2 separate regions of the Homo sapiens genome follow, and region 2 is linked to region 1. The links are contacts of gene promoters, found by promoter capture Hi-C in human tissues and cell types (Jung and others, 2019). All regions are on one chromosome and are shown on one strand. The core of a region is centred on a gene start or on the middle of the fragment in contact, and the rest is flanking DNA. Distances in the headings are between cores, read along the strand shown. Region 1 holds the start of OR6M1 (olfactory receptor family 6 subfamily M member 1). Region 2 has its middle 3.9 kb from the start of OR6X1.

What was found. Contacts are between HindIII fragments. The study calls those that stand out against the background at their distance.
Region 2: a fragment that was not itself captured here is called in contact with the fragment with the promoter of OR6M1 in region 1 in 1 of the 25 tissues and cell types used here (pancreas).

Annotation. Positions count from the first base shown.
Region 1 is chr11:123,804,947-123,807,646 of GRCh38, forward strand. It overlaps OR6M1 (olfactory receptor family 6 subfamily M member 1), which reads right to left and starts at 1,403. Exons shown (of 1, transcript NM_001005325.1): 1 at 462-1,403. The coding sequence starts at 1,403. The coding sequence ends at 462. The region is part of intron 2 of LOC105369544 (a long non-coding RNA gene); the gene reads left to right. The HindIII fragment of the contact is 10,727 bases long and covers 1-2,700 here.
Region 2 is chr11:123,756,989-123,759,822 of GRCh38, forward strand. No RefSeq gene overlaps it. Among named protein-coding and RNA genes, the nearest start is that of OR6X1, 3.9 kb to the left of the region's middle. The HindIII fragment of the contact is 5,008 bases long and covers 1-2,834 here.

The sequences.
Region 1 (2,700 bases), core at 153-2,652:
CAGGGCTCAATGAATCCTCCAATCTTGGCCTTCCAAAATGTTGGGATTACAGGTGTGAGCCACTGCACCCAGCCTCCCTTCGTGGTATATGCAAGATACTTCATGGATTGAATTTTCTCCCAGACATGATCAGAGTTTTCCTTCAGTTTGGCATGATCATTGCTCATCCTGGGGCACCATCTCAGTTTCTGGCACACCAAACACCACCATAGTCGTGCAGAAAGAATGTGTTGAAGATAAGAAATGTGTGCCATTGGGGGAGGGCTGGGGGTTGGGGAGAGCATTAGGAAAAAGAACTAATGCATGCTGGGCTTAGTACATGGGTGATGGATTGATAGGTGCAGCAAACCACCATGGCACACGTTTAACTATGTAACAAACCTGCACATCCTGCACATGTACCCTGGAACTTAAAAAAAATAATAAAAAAAGAAATGTATTTAATGTAGTGTATACCAGTGTCAAGTTTTCCTTTGTATCAAGGTCATGATTCTGTTCACTGTCTCTCTCAACACTTCCTGTACCTTCTCATTCCTCAAGCTGTAGATAAAAGGGTTCAGGAGAGGGGTCACCACTGTGATGAGGACAGCGGCCACCTTGTCATAATCCAGTGAGGAGTTCTGATTGGGTCTCACATACACAAAGATGTTGCTCCCGTGGGCAATGGAGACAACAGTGATGTGAGAAGCACAGGTAGAAAAAGCTTTCTGACGGCCCTGGGTGGAGGGGATACGCAGGATGGTAGAAATTATGTACACGTAGGACCCAGTAGTGAATGCCAGGGAGCTCAGGATGACAAGGGCAGAGAGGAGAAAGTTTATCTTCTCAATGAGGTGAGTATTTATACAGGCCACCTGAAGAAGAGGGGCAATGTCACAGAAGAAATGATTAATTTCTTTCCTACAGTAAGGTAGCCTTGTCACTACAATGGTTGGAAACAACACAGACAGGAAGGCTCCCACCCAGCATCCCAGAACCAGCAGAAGGCAGGCCCTGCTGTTCATGATGACCGTGTAGTGCAGTGGGTCGCAGATAGCCATGTAGCGGTCAAAGGACATCACCGCCAAGAGGATAAACTCCACCGTCCCCAGAAAGAAGTAGAAATATGTTTGGATCATGCAACCAGCAAAAGATATGGTTTTCTCTTCTCCTAGGAGGCAGGCCAACAACTTTGGGGTAATGACAGTGGTGTATAAGATATCCAGAAAGGACAAATTACTGAGGAAGAAGTACATTGGAGTTTGCAGGCGATGATCAATCCATATCAGGGAGATGATGGTGATGTTTCCTGTTGCTGTTAATGTGTAAGTTACCACAAGAACCACGAAGAGAGATATTCGAATCTCCAGGAGAGCTGGGAAGGCAATTAGGGTGATTTCAGTCACAGTGCTCCAGTTTCCCATGACAACTACTATATGGTGGGCAGGGTTTCCCTGAAGAAACAAGAAAAGGAAAATCAGCTTAGGTAATTTTGTAAATATCTGCTGAGAATGTATTGCGGAGAGTGGCTTATATTGGGAGATGTAGACCTGGTATGTAGTCCTCTATCTGCAAGTTAATTATTGTGCCACACTGGGAAAGTCAAGATACTATTTAGGTACATGGTTTTTTTTTGTTTGTTTGTTTGTTTTTCCTGTAAAATGACGGAATAAGGCTGGATAAAAAAAACTCAACTTCCTTCTAGTTATAAAATTCTATTCCTTTTCATTGATGAAATTTCTAATCTTTTCTATTCTTTTGGCTTCATTTTCTCAGCTAAAAATGTGCTAATGTACTGATGTATACTTAATCAGAATGCCCTTCTATTATTCTGGTTTACAGTTCCTGAGTGGCAAATCCTTTAGAAACGTAAAGTCTTTTCTATAACAAACTTTCTTTCACTTTGGTGGTTGTCATTTAATAAAGGTTGATTTAGTTTTTTCTACATTTGTAGATATCCAGAGTCTCCGAATTCTTAACATCTTTCCCTAGCATGTATAGATCTGTGAAAACTGTCCAGAGATTATTAAAAGGAACAACAGCTGACGGTTCCTATTAATCATTTTAGATGACACCTCAAAAAGAAATAATGAGTGTCTCGCCCTTAGATTATGCTTTTGTGTCTAAAACCTACCTTCTACAAGTTCTGTGCAGTATCTAATATGTATCATATATCTGGCTGATCATTTGAGAGCACCGTATATAGTGTGATAACATCAGAGAGGCACAAATTATATACAGGAAGGCAACATAGAGGTAATTCACCTCACTTCATTTACTTTGTCAGCCGACATTGTGAAACTGTACTTCAAGATCATCTAGTTTGTTCTTTGTCCCACAATGTGAGAAATGATTATTTTGCAGAGACCTCCCCATTTTAGGTAAAAACCAGCCCATGCTTTAACTCTGACCTTGGTGCTTTATTTATCTAGATATCACTTAGCACCTCCTTAATAAATCCTTAATAGATAAGTTAGCATCTCCTCCACTCTTTGCTACTGATCGTGGCCACCTCTTTTTCTTTTTCCAAACTCCCCCTGCACTTTCCTCCAAGATAAAAAATTTACCCTCTTATTTTATTTTTCTTTTTATTATACAAGAAAGACATTTTTAGTGCAAAGAATTAAAAAATGCAAGTGCAGAAAAGAAAATTATAATCTGTAATCGAACTTCTTAGAGATACAGTGACCTTTTGGTGTATATAGTTTTAGGCTATTTTAA
Region 2 (2,834 bases), core at 289-2,788, 48 kb before region 1:
AAACACAGGAAAGCAACCCAAGGAACCTAAAGTTATAGAGCTAAGATGCTGGATTAAACACTGCAGTCTATATGCCTATTACAATTCAATCCTACACTCTAGACTTCTTCTTCCTTTTAAAAAGTCACAATGTATAGGGTCAAATGGATTCCTCCATATCCACCAGGGTCCAAGTCACCAGATCCTGTTAACTTTACTTCTTACTCACTCTCTAGTGTGTGTCCTTTCCGTCTCTCCCTGGCTCCGGTAAATCATGCTGTCATCTCCCATCAGGATTCGAACACAGCCTCCTAACAGGACTCCCTGTCTCCTGACTTGCTGTGCTCTTTCCTACCGATGGTTCAAACTGTAGCAAGGGGGACCATTCGAATTCTGACTACGCCACTCCTCAGAATCTTGAAGTTAACATCCCAGACTCCTCAGCATGACATTTAAGACCACCGATGATCTGGTCTTACCTACCTTTCCAGCATGATTTTCTGCCATTTGCCATTTTTCCTTCTGCCTTCTTCTATGCTCCACACTTACTGAATTACTCAGGTTTAGAGGTTAGCAAACTATGGCCCTGTTTTTGTAAAGTTTCACTAAAACATAGCCACACTCATCTGTTTACCTATTGCCTGTGGCTGCTTTTGTGCTATCATGGTGAAGTTTGGTAATTGTGACAGAGACCATATGACCCCCAAAGTCTAAAAGGTTTGCTATCTGGCCCTTTACAGAAACAGCTGGCTGACTCCTGCTCTAGTTCCCCAATTATGCCATCTTCTTTCTTGCCTCCCAGTCATTGCACCTGCTGTTCTCTTCACCAGAAATACCCTTCCCGACTTTCTCCATTATTTGGCTAAGTCTTGTCTGAATTCTAGATTTAAGTTTAGGAGCCACCTCCATGGGAAGCCTTCCTTAACTTGCCACCTCTAGTCCAGTTAAGGTGCTGCTCCTACACACTTTTCTAATGCCCTGTGCATATCTATACCTGAACACTTTGCAGAATTGTGTTTATTGTTTGCTTGGTGTCTGCTATAGACTCTAAGCCCCTTGCAGGCAGCAACAGTGTCTGCAGGGCCGAAGCATAGAGCTTGACACAAAATAAGCTCTCAAAACATAGTTTCTAAATGATTATATAAATGGATAGCTTGTTGACACTCTGTCCCCAGTTACCTAGAAGTTTATGGAAACTGACACATGCACATGTTTATACATGTCACCGTTTCCTGTATTTCAAGTGCTCAAGTCATATCATAACAGGGACTCTTTGCTAAATAATTTGTCTCCAAGTTTTCTTCTGCTTCCAACTTTTTCTGATGTGAGTTTTGCCGCATGAAAACCTTTCTGCTCCATCTTTCCCTAATCAGGGATATGCTGGTGTTTTGTTTTGTTTTTACTGTGTTCTGGTTCTTTTCCCAGCTTCTTCAGGCTGCCTGAGTACAGATAATTTTCTTAACTCATTTAATGCTCAATTGCTTGAAATTGTATTGAGTCATTTTTTTCTGAGTTTTGTTGTGCGATAAAGAATCCCACATTTTCTAAAACTTTTTATAGTTTTAGAAGAAGACAAAAAGAAGAAAAGTATTAACATATTTTCTTCTCTGGATAACAGCAAAATGTTCCAAGTCTTGTTTGTTTATTTATTTGTTTGTTTTTAAATTGCTGATGAAGACCAATTTCAATTTTCAAGACTTTGATTATGGAATAAATTTGAATATGCCCAGTGGTGTAGAACTCTAAAACAGAAACATTAAGTACATATAGAATAAGCTTCACAAAGAGAAATAAACCAAGATTCATCACTCAGGGGACTTGTGCTAAGCTGAAACTTGAATGAAGAACCAATTTGAAATTCCTTTCAAGGACTGATGGTTCTAGGTAAGATGTGGTGAATAAAGACTGCTTTTCTGAGGAAGATCCAAGTCCAGGTCATTGTGATGACTTTTCTACATGATACCAAAATTGATTTATTAGGATTTACTTTAAGACTTCAAGGGGTCAAGTCTAGCTGTATCAATTCATTCTAGAGAAAAGCAAAGGTTTTTCCAAAATAGTACTCTTTCTTGGTGACAAAGCAATACTTACAGCACTACTGATTTCCAGGAAAACACTTCCAGCCGCAAGGTGTGTCCTTGCCCACAGTAGACTGACAGAAAAGGAGAGCTGGGTTATAAAGGCAGTATAATTGGAACAGAAAATTTTTCTTTTTTTTCTGCACAGAAAATGAATCTCTTTTTCTATACTTTAATGCAAGTGTCCTTATGCATTACTGAATTGTATTCATAAAGCTTTCATGACATGGCAAGGTTTCTTCAGCATTTAGGAGAATTGTATTGAGAGTAATTAATTCATCTGTTCCTGCTAGGTCAGGATACCTTCTCTGAAAATAACAATTTGTTAGTGGGACATTTTCACAGGTTCCTATGAGACATCAGTCTGCATGGATTTGCTCCAGAGAGTCCCAGGAGATAGGGAAGTTCTCACTAAAAGTTTATTCACAAGTCAAGCTGAGGAATTTGTAGTTTTCTAAATTCTAATTGGTATCAATCATTCCTGCACTCCTGAGGTAATTAACCAAAGTCTGAGAATCTTTTAATTTTGTAAGTTTTTAGATCTTGGATTTCTCAGTTCTCCAAGAAGGAAAATTATTGACATCTTAATAAATAAATGGGGTCCTTTAATGAACTGAATTGAATCAAAGGTAGTCAATTTGGTCAATAATATAAAAATGGCCATGTATTCAGAAATGTGAGATTGAACAGAATAAAAATTGCATTCACTCACGCCTGTAATCCCAGCACTTTGGGAGGCCGAGGTGGGTGGATCATGAGGTCAGGAGATCGAGACCA